Linked DNA regions of Homo sapiens: all the other regions are linked to region 1. Evidence: promoter capture Hi-C in human tissues and cell types (Jung and others, 2019). All regions are on one chromosome and are shown on one strand. The core of a region is centred on a gene start or on the middle of the fragment in contact, and the rest is flanking DNA. Distances in the headings are between cores, read along the strand shown.

Region 1 (3,708 bases), core at 453-2,952:
GCAGGAGCTCCTTGGGCAACTTTAGGTCCTGAGGATGAATCCGCCTGGCCAGGGCTGCAAGGAGACCCCAAGAGCAGCGGAGAGGAGATCACGCGTCTTCTGTCTCCCAAGGATGAACTTGGCGGTAAAAGAGCTGGGGCTTCCAACGGCTGCTAAGATGCAGGGGCCGGTTGTTGTGGGGAGGGCGGTCCTCTGATCCCACGCACGCTTCTGCAAATCCGATGCCAGTGGCGAAGGTACAAGACAGAAGAGGGGATCTCAATAGGTATTATGGCCCCGATCAAAGTGGGCTCCGGAAGCTAGAAGGCGCGGAAGCCCAGCGGGCCCGTAGCAGAGCGCGCGGGGCAACTGGGCATGGCGCGCGGGGGTGCACGGGGCGGACGCGCAGTTCTGGGGGCGCACGGCTCTGGACTCTGCTCACTCACGCGGCCTCTCCCTCGCCCTCGACTCCGCCGCAGCCTGGACCGGTCCTCGCGGTCTCCCGACAGCCAACGATGGTTTACAAACACACATGCACTTCGCTGAAGGATGTCTGGGCAATCCCGCCTCCCGCTCGGCGTCCTTGGCGACGCTCTGCACCAGGACCTGCCCCGAGGTCACGCAGAAAAGACAAAAGGGCAGTCGGGCCGCCGCAGCCGGGCAGAAATATCCACTAGTCAGCACTCCGGCGAGGAACTCCAAGAGGCCAAGTGGAGGATGAGAGCTGCTGCGAAGACTGAGTGGGGACTGACTGGGGGCGGACTTAAAAACCAGGCAGACCGGAAGGAGTGGAAAGGCAAAGGCCAAGGTTGGAGGTGTCAGCGTCCTGCTGGGGCGTACTGGAGAATGGCTCGGTGGCAGGTGGGCGGGTGGGATCCACTACTCCAGGCAGAGCCAGGCGGCAGCTGAATGGCAGTAGTGTGTGCGCGCGTGTCAACCCCGCTCGTCTCCCAGATAAGCCGCAGCTCCGCGGCAGACACCTGATGGCAAAGGTAGAAGAAACAAGAGCCGGGTTCCGGAGGGCGCAGAGCCACGGCCGGCCCCCGGCGGTCTCCCACTAGTGGTTCGTCCTTCTCAAAGTGCAGCAACTTTTCCCAGGCTTTGAATTCCGTCCCCCAAGGCCACAGTGGCGGTACCCCTGCCGGCGTGGCGACGCCGCCCGGCTCCTGGCGCTGCACCTGACGCGGCGGCCGCAGTCCCGGGTAGTCCTTCTCCTTCTAGCCCCTTCCCCTCTCCCGCTGCTTTCCTGGCCTCCCGCTCCAGGGAGCGAGGTCGGGGAGAGGGAGGGCGACGACTCAGAGCGGGGACTCGGTGGCTCTGCCGACTCCGGAGCCCCTGGCAAGTGTCTAAACAATAGGACGGACGCAGCAGCCCAAGTCTCGCTTGTCTGGAAGGAAGGTGGGTTGTTGTCGTAACTGGAGTTGTTCGCTGGGGCTGACTGGCGCTCAGCGTAGCCAAACAAAAACCCGGCCCGCGCCTCCGGAGCCGGCTGCGGGCCCCCGGCGCTCCCCTTTCTGCTCAGCACTCCCGCCGTGCCCAGAAAGCGCGGCAGCTTCGGCCTGCGCCTGGGCGCTTCGGCGCTCCCATGCCTCGCAGCTGCCTCCGCCTCCGCCGCCGCCGCCGCCGCCGCCTTCTTTTTTTTAACCACAGTCTGCGGCAGCCACCACCACCGCCGCCGCCAAGCTCCGCCGTCCGGGCGCTTCCCAAATAAATAACACCAAGTCCGAAGTTGAGCCGGCGCGGGCCTTATATAGCCGCCCGAGCCTCCGCCCCCTGACCCCGCCCCTCGAGGCCCAGGCCCGCCCCCTGGCTCCGCTCTGGGAGCCCGCACCTCGCTGGGGAGAGGGGAGAGGTGAGGCCGGGGCTGCCAGCGCTGGGCGGAGGCGGCGGCTGGCGGCGCGCGTTCCCGTGCGCCCTGGCTCGCCCCCTCGCTCCCACGCGCGGGCAAACTTGGCCCGAAGAAGGAGCCACCCGAGCCCCAGCCCCCAACTCCTTGGCCCCAGAGGTGACCTGGGCTCGGAGATAGTCGTTTGCAGTGGGAGAATGGGAAGAGGTCGGCTTTGAACGCGGCTCATAAATAAACAGCCCTGCCAGTGCCTCTCCTGCAGCTTTTGCCACGCGATCCTTAAGGGGGCTGCTCACTCTTTGCAGCGCAGCAAGAGACAGAGAGACAGAAACAGAGAAATTATGATTTAAATTTAAGAAAAATCCTACCGAAATAGATCTGCCTGCGCTTACAGACACACACGTGTATTTTGGGGAGCTGAAAAGTTCAGTTTTTGCAAGTTGGAAAACAGCATTTTCCAACCTTCTTGCTTGCCTTTCTATCTCCAAGCCACCCCCTTCCGTTTAACCCTTCCTTTGTAGACACACACTGAACCACACCGTGGTCAGTTGATGTCTTGGATATTCAATAGGCTCACAAAACTCTTAAGGGCTTGAACGTATCTGTGTGATTTTTTACTCTCTTATGAGAGAAAGGAGGGGAAAAAATAAATCCCTAGCAACGCACATTATACCAGAAGGTTTTCTTTATTTCAGGGCAGTTCTGGATATTTTTTTCCCCGCTATGTTTTGAAAGAGAATTTCCTTGTTTCATCTTGTCTCTTTAGTGTGACGTATGTCTGGCAACGGCTGCCTCTCTCGCCCCCCTTTCCCCCCCAGCAAGAGCCAATGTCACTGTAAGTTTGAAATGACATCTAAATGACTCTGCTCCTTCTCTTGGATTTAATATGCATCATATTGTTGTTCTTCCTCCCATTTCCACGTTAAGAAGCTTTCCCTGGAATTTGTGCAAGCCCCCGCCTAATACCAGCCTCATATTGTAGTAGTTATTTGTATAATTATTAGAAGCTTCCTTGAAAGCAAGACCTGTCCAACTCTTTGTATTTCCAGCATCTATGCCTGCCACATAATAGGTTTCCTCATAAGTAACCGATTTCTTTAACTCAAGAGTATGCTCAACCTAAAATCTCTGCAATATCCTCATTAACGTTTTTCCTGGTTAACATTTTCTAAGATGTCCTTTCATAATGGCTACCCCTACTTACCTCATTTTGCCTGCCTTGGAAAACGTAAGCCTTTTCGAGGACACGCCCAAAGGCAGGGTACCATCTGATAACTGAATTGGAACTCTTAGGATTACTCATTTTAATGCCACAGATTTATATTGCTCTATTCTTTTAAAACCTTCAAAAACATTTGACATTTATTAACTCATTTGTCCTTCTAGATTTTAGCTTAAAGGTCTGTTATGTAACTTCCTTGAGGAGGAGAAAAAAGAAGCCCTTGTCACATTTTCTTGTAAGGAAAATGAGATAAAGAACAAGTACCTGTCATTGAGGAAGGAGCTCCCCCAACCCTCAGTGAATTTTCCTTAGTGTGTACCAGTAAATTATGTGGTTAAATATGGTTGCTGATACATTAATTTATTTAATTTCACAACTTTAATATCTTGTCAGCAACAAGAGGTGTTTGTGTTCAACTTTGTGCACCACATAGAATTGTTGTTCCATATTTTAATTCCAAGAACATATCCTGCATTCCAAATATTTATAAATAATATTATTGATATTGTTGCATAAGTGAAATTCACAGACATAAGTTCAAGTTTCATTCTATCTCTGATCACTTTCTGTTTTGTGTAAAACCAAGGAGAAACTAACATACATAGCAACATGCCTACAGAAACATCTTTTTAAAATTTGAAGCCAATTTAAATAAGAAGCT
Region 2 (3,708 bases), core at 805-3,304, 1.1 Mb after region 1:
TAGGGAATTTCATAAATATCATATGAATGAATGCTAGCATTATTATTACATTATTTGTATATTTCTAGGCACACAGGATACTCTTTCATGATCACATGTATAATCATAATCAGTTTTAGTTTATAGAATAGACTCTTTCTTTTTCATATACCTATACTCATATAGATAGATAGAAACAGGCATATCGGAGAGACTGAAAATACTTCTTACAAATACTGAGTTGTTCAAGTACCACATTGTTTGAAGAGAGGACCTTTTTATATTTCTGTAAATTGTGCCCAGAAGAAGAGAAGACTAAAGTAAACATTTCTACCACTTTACTTACCTTTTCGTTATCTTTCCAAATTCCAACCATTCTGCAGAGAATATTCATTAAGCATCTGCTGTATCAGGTCCTGGTTTCCAGATGAATAAGGCACCATCTCTACTGTTCCCAAATCCAGCATCTGCAGAAGTACCCATGGATATAAAGAAGCATTTGTAATAAACGTGGACAGATGCTATAGCAGATTTGTGGATTTTATAGAGCAGTATATTGATTTTACTTGAAAACTCAAATTTGGTTGCCAGCTTTTGATTTTGCCAGACATTAAGATAACTAATTACAAATGCATTTTTATAACCTAGGGGAAAAATTAACACTGAATATATAAAACATACTTTCAGATTAAGTCAGATTCTTAAATTGATATATTTATCTTATTTTCTTTTTGCCAAATAATATTTATTAATAGCTGAAATCTACATTAAAATAACATATTTTGCCTATCTAGTTGACAAAGATGAAAAATAGATGTATTATGATTATTGACAAAGGGTGTTCTCAAATATGTGCTTTTAGTCACAGTGTGGGAAAATGTGAATGAATGTGTGTGTGTGTGTGTGTGTATTAGTACATACGTTAGTACCTATACTTACATCTATATACCTACACAGGTACATAATTTGTATCACCCCATAGCTATAGCTTTGTAGCCTGCTCTTTTTAAATCTTAACTTCATATTTTGAGTATTTATTTTGTCATTAATGTTACCTTTTGTTCTTGATTTTAGCAGGGGTACATGTGCAGCTTTGTTATATAGGTAAACGAATGTCACGGGGATTTGTTGTGCATATTATTTCATCATCCAGGTACTAAGCCTAGTATTCAGTAGGTATTTTTTTCTGATCCTCTCCCTCCTCTTAACCCCCACCCACAAGTAGGCCCCAGTGCCTATCATTCCCATGTTTGTGTCCATGTATTCTCATCATTTAGCTCCCACTTATAAGTGAGAACACACAGTATTTGGTTTTCTGTACCTGCATTAGTTTACTAAAGATAATGACCATTAGCTCCATCTGTGTTCCCAAAAAGACGTGGTCTTATTCTTCTTTATGGCTGAATAATATCCACGGTGTATATGTACCATATTCTGTTTATCCAATATGTCATTGATGGACATTTAGGTTGATTCCATGTCTTTGCTATTGTGACTTGAGCTGCAATGAATGCTCATGTGCATGTGTCTTTATGGTAGAATGATTTATATTCCTTTGGGTATATATCAAGTAATGGGATTGCTGGGTCAAATTGTACTTCTGTTTTGAGGTTTTTGAGGAATTGGCACACTGCTTTCCACAATGATTGAACTTACTTACACTCTTACTAACAGTGTATAAGCATTCCCTTCTCTCCGCAACTTCGCCAGCATGTTATTTTTTGACTTCTTAGTAATAGCTATTCTGACTGGTGTGAGATAATATTTTATTGTGGTTTTGATTTGCGTTTCTCCAATGATCAGTGATACTGAGCTTTTTTTCATATGCTTGTTGGCCGCATGTATGTCTTCATTTGAAAACTCTCTGTTCATGTCCTTTGCCCACTTTTTAATGGGGTTGTTTGTTTTTTTTCTTGTAAATCTGTTTAAGTTCCTTACAGATGTGGATATTAGACCTTTGCTAGATGCATAGTTTGTAAAAATTTTCTCTCATTTTGTAGGTTGTCTGTTTATGCTGTTGATAGTTTATTTTGCTGTGCAGAAGCTCTTAAGATTAATTAGATCCCATTTGTTAATTTTTGCTTTTGTTGCAATCATTTTTGGCATGTTTGTCATTACATCTTTTCCGTTTCCTATGTAGGACTTTATTTTTAAAATCACAGTTTTTCACTTTTTTTTGTTTGTTTTACCACAAACTGCTGAACACTTCATTTCTTGTTATAGACCATGGCCTTCAGATCTTCACAGTGAAATAGGCATGAAGAGAGATACAAAGGCTCTTAAGAGATACAAAGTAGAGAGCAGGCCATCTCCCAGAGACTCCAGTTGGAGGATTTTATGTGACTGTTTATCCCTGGAGTTGTGGCCTGGGGAACAGAAGTGAATTCCAGGAAGGTACGGGGAGTATGGAGATCACCAGGAAACTCTACTCACAGGACATTGTTCAAATGCTGATCCATAAACAATGACAAGGTATTAACAGTTAGGCAGAGAATGGGAGGGCTGGAGATGGTTTTCCTGGTAGAGAAAGCAGCTCCAGCAAAGGCAGATAAATACAAAAGAGCACAGCACTGAAGCCGCTCATTGTCAAAGGGAACATATTTGGTGAGGGTCCCAATAGAGGAAAGGATGGGAACATGGAACTTGTCATCCCTCTTTCTGCATAATTTCTTTTCAGGATGCTGTTTTTCATGAATAAGAACTGACTGTTTTAATACCTGAGGTGGCTGAATTGCCTTATGTTATATGAGAGCAACACTTTTAGACTAAATTAAATTGGTATCAGTCAGGGTTCTTTAGAGGGATGGAACTAATTTATATATATATATATATATATATATATATATATATATATATATATACACACACACACACACACATATATATATAATACACACACACACATATATATGTGTGTATATATGTATACACACTGGAGCTAAAGGGGCGTACATATATATGTATGTGTGTGTATATATATTTATATATATGTGCATATATATGTGTACATGTAATATATAATATATATGTATTTATATATAATATATATCATATATGTATTAATATATAATGTATATGTATGTATATATGTATATATACACACACATATGTGTATATGTGTGTGTATACTTTCAGGAAAGTGTATGTGTGTGTGTGTGTGTGTGTGTGTGTGTGTGTGTATATATATATATATATATATATATGAAAGGGGAGCTTGTTAAGTATTAACTCACACAATTACAATGTCCCTCAATAGGCTGTCGGCAAGCTGAGGAGCAAGGACAGCCAGTCTCAGTCCCAAAACTGAAGAACTGGGAGTCTCTTGCTTGAGGGCAGGAAGCATCCAGCAAGGGAGAAAGATGTACGCTGGGGGGCTAGGCCAGTCTAGTCTTTCCACGATTTTCTTCCTGCTTTATATTCTAGCCATGCTGGCAGCTGATTAGATGGTGCCCACCCAGACTTAGGGTGGGTCTGCCTTTCCCAGCCTATGGCTCAAATGTTAATCTCCTTTGGCAACACCCTCACAGACACACCAGGATCAATACTTTGCATCCTTCAATCCAATCAAGTTGACACTCAGTATTAACCATCACAAATTTCAATACCAATTGTGATGTCAAATATAAAATAGCAGCTCATTCTAAGCATTTTTGTATAAATTGTGATGGGATAGACTTTCCTGTCACATGCTGCAGTGAAGAAAAGGAAAAAATCATTCCAAGAATAAAG
Region 3 (3,708 bases), core at 644-3,143, 1.1 Mb after region 1:
TGAATCTTTTTGACTTCTGCCCAACTCCAGCTAATTCATTCTTGCCCTTGAAATCCACTTCCAAATTCATGTTTGTTTGTTGGGCTTTGTCCCTTTTCTAGCCACTTACCGTTCCACAGTGTTTTATATAGGCTCTCATATGCTTGATGCTGCTGAAATTAGAGGTCTTTGGAGCTAGGCTCTGCCATGTCTTCCACATCTGAGTCATACTTCCACATAGCTATATCCCTAAAACTCCATGCTATCCTGAACACATATTTTACAGCCCTGCTTTTGAAACATGAATGTAATTCAGAAAGAGAAAAAAAATGGAACAGATAGTATAGTTCTACTATGTTTCAAGGAGCAAAATGAAAAATGAAAATATCCAGAATTTGGAAATGCTGTCTAGTGTGGTAGATTGACTACTGGCAACTCACTCCCATCCTCACCCCTGCTATATTCTCATTATATCACAGTGGCTTGAACCTTGGAAGACGTAATTTCCCGATTTTTCTGGCTCATTGGGCAAAGCTCAGGGTCTGCCTGTAAGAGGTACTCATATGAGATTTAGAACATGGCTAGAAAGGAGTAGTCATTACCATTCTCCTATAGTAGAAGCTAGGGGAAATGTGGGCAGAGGGCAGAGGTACAGTTTTCAACAGGTTCTGAGTAAACTTCTTCAAATTACCTGCTTCATTTTTGAGATTATTGGCAACATCTGCACTCAATTTCCTTGTGTCCTAATTTTCCAGAAGTTAATAATTTCTCACTAACTATTGCTCCCATAGCACTTTCCATGGGTTTTCAAGTGACTATTCCTGCTTTAGATTCCTTCCTGTTAAAAATACTTGGGTGGTTTCTTTTTTTCCTGTCCAAACTTTTAATGGTACGTTTTACCAACATCAATTTTCTTGGTGAGTGGGATTATATAGAGAATAGATGCAAAGTGATGATATTCATTCACTTATTCTTTATGTTGTTAAATAGATACAGAGTAATTAAAATATACCACGTTCCAGAGTTGACTAGTAATGGTATACTGTCAAGGCACATAGAGTCTAAGTGAAAAAATTAATTCAAACGATGTCAATACAAGTTAAAATGGATTCAGTTCTATAAGAGAAGAAGGAGTGTTGTAAATGTCCACAATAAAATAGGATTTGATCCTTCATTCTGATACTTTACATTCTTGGAATCTGTTTTTTCAGCCAGGACATTGGTCAAACTTTTCTATTTGCTGCTGATGAATTTGAACTACATGTTACTGCTATACACATTCAAGTCATTACATGAATTTATAATTAAATATTTAGTATTTGCATGTGTTTATGTGTGTGTGTTTGTATGTGTGTGTGTGTCTGGAGAATGAGAGGAAAAAAGAGAAAAAGAGAGAAGGCCAAGAGAAAAGCATTATCATTGATCTTGCAGAGATCACTTAGGTTGCCATTGACCCAATTTACATCTTATAGTCTAATGATTCTCAAGGAAATTGTGTTTAGCATTTGAGACGAGACACTTTTATGAAGGACCATCCAATGCACTGCAAAACAATGTGGCATTTCTGGCCTCTACCTACTAAATGCCTATAGGACCCTTAAATCATTGCAACAACTCAAATACTAATATACTATATTATGTCTCCAGACATCTATTACATACCATCTCTATGATGCTCCTCTCAAAAGGAAACAATGTTAGCATGAAATAAATTAATGTTGTATACCTTATCCACTGTAATCATTGCCTGACTCTTGATTAGCAATTGTCTTCTAATGCTTACAGTTCAATAGTTAAATTGCGTTTAACCCCTAATTAAAACAAGATGTCATTTCTGCCTATGCAATTAGGAAATGTTTAGAAATTTTAATATTTGATGGTAATGAGAATACAATAAAATATGAAGCTTCATAAGTTGGGTATGGAAGGGTAAGTTACTCCAAAGTTTCTAGATGACAAAACCTATGTGCATCAGCAGTCTTAAAATACATGTTTATTTTGATAAATTAAGTCTATTTTGGGAAACTCATATCTTGTCTGTGACATAAACAAGAATGAGGTCAAAGAGGTTCATTCCAGTGTAAAATATAATTGAAAACAATGTAATGGTCTAACAATGTAGGCCTTTAAGCTTATTTCCATTAAATAAACTTGAAACTTCGTATTATGGAATAGTATGCACCCACTACAAATGCACTTTATAAAATAATATTATCATAGGCAATATTAAATAAAAATGTTATGCTAGAAAATTACATTTAAATATCACCTCAATTCATCTAACTATGAATAAAGGTATACATAATAACATTGCTTTATAAAAACACATTAAAATATTTCACAATTCTTTTCTACCCATCTCACTCAGTGAAGGGGTAAAGAGATATTGGGATGTTGCATATGTTTGTCAGCATTTACTAGATTATGTACATGAAAACCAATGCAAAATTTCATTAGCTTACAACAAATATTCACTCACATTAAGTAAAGCTTGAGTTTTGTACCTCAAAGCATTCCAAAGCCTCCATGATTTCACTGGTCTTGGCTGGTCTTCTGTGAGCTTGGCTTGAGTGTGCAGACTGAGTTTAGATGTCCTTTGAAGGAACACTTTCTTCTTGAGTTACCTTTGGTGGAGGACAAGAACACAAGAGGGCAACGTGTTTCCAGTGATTCATTCCAACATGCATTCCAACAATGCAAGAAGATTGACAAAACAAAAACTTGCACTGCTCCTAAAAGCATAGGCTTGAGCACCACACTCAAACCAATCATATTTCTTTGGCCAAAAGAAGTCCATATGAAACCTAAAGTCAGTGGTTTGAAAAAAAATCTACTCCACATAAGTAATGATGACAAAGGAGATAAGTGGACAAACAATTCATAACAAATCTGAATAAATCTATCATTGCAAGGTGGAAGTTTCCTTGTTTTTATTTATTTATTTATTTATTGCTTCCCATTGTAGTATACTTTTCAAATTTGCTGTGTTCTACATTTTTTAATTTTAATTTTTTGATTTTTTTAAACTTTTAAGTTCAGGGGTACAAATGCAGGTTTGTTATCTAAGTAAACTTTTGTCATGGGGGTTTGTTGTACAGATTATTTCATCACCTATGTATGAAGCCTAATACCCATTAGTTATTTTTCCTGATACTCTCCCTCCTCCCACCCTCTACCTCCTGATAGGCCCCAGTGTGTGTTGTTCCCTTCTCTGTGTCCATGTGTTCTCTTGATTTAGCTCCCACTTATAAGTGAGAACATGCGGTATTTGTTTTTCTGTTCCCGTGTTAGTTTGCTAGGGATAATGGCATCCAGTGCCATCAAATGCAATCACAAGTATTTTACTTTTATACATAAAATTTTTAAATTCAAATATAAGACAGCATTTAAAATATCTATCATCATTTTTGCCAAAATTTGGGCATGGAATTCTCATCTTATATCGTGCAAACTACCTTCAACTTCTCTTTGAACAAAAAAAAAAAATTATTTTTTTTTTCTTTTCCCTTTAGATTTTTGTACTGTTTCGCTTTTTCATATTTTATAAATAGTGTACTTTCATTGGTTCAGTGAGATTAATTTTAAATTATTTCAGAACTCTGAGATAGAATTCATTTGTTGTAGAAATTCCAAGTATAATATGAGTAGTTAGGTGTTTCTTTACTGTTCATTTGTTCTTGTATGAACAATGAATAAAAGCAAGATCATCTGTTAACCATGAGAGGAAGA

Evidence for each region. Contacts are between HindIII fragments. The study calls those that stand out against the background at their distance.
Region 2: a fragment that was not itself captured here is called in contact with the fragment with the promoter of SLIT2 in region 1 in 2 of the 25 tissues and cell types used here (IMR-90 fibroblasts and heart left ventricle).
Region 3: a fragment that was not itself captured here is called in contact with the fragment with the promoter of SLIT2 in region 1 in 3 of the 25 tissues and cell types used here (mesenchymal stem cells, mesendoderm cells and thymus).

Annotation. Positions count from the first base shown.
Region 1 is chr4:20,249,899-20,253,606 of GRCh38, reverse strand. It overlaps SLIT2 (slit guidance ligand 2), which reads right to left and starts at 1,702. Exons shown (of 37, transcript NM_004787.4): 1 at 1-1,702. RefSeq lists an enhancer at 1-586. The HindIII fragment of the contact is 10,378 bases long and covers 1-3,708 here.
Region 2 is chr4:19,142,496-19,146,203 of GRCh38, reverse strand. No RefSeq gene overlaps it. Among named protein-coding and RNA genes, the nearest start is that of LINC02438, 310 kb to the left of the region's middle. The HindIII fragment of the contact is 8,731 bases long and covers 1-3,708 here.
Region 3 is chr4:19,173,909-19,177,616 of GRCh38, reverse strand. No RefSeq gene overlaps it. Among named protein-coding and RNA genes, the nearest start is that of LINC02438, 280 kb to the left of the region's middle. The HindIII fragment of the contact is 3,662 bases long and covers 63-3,708 here.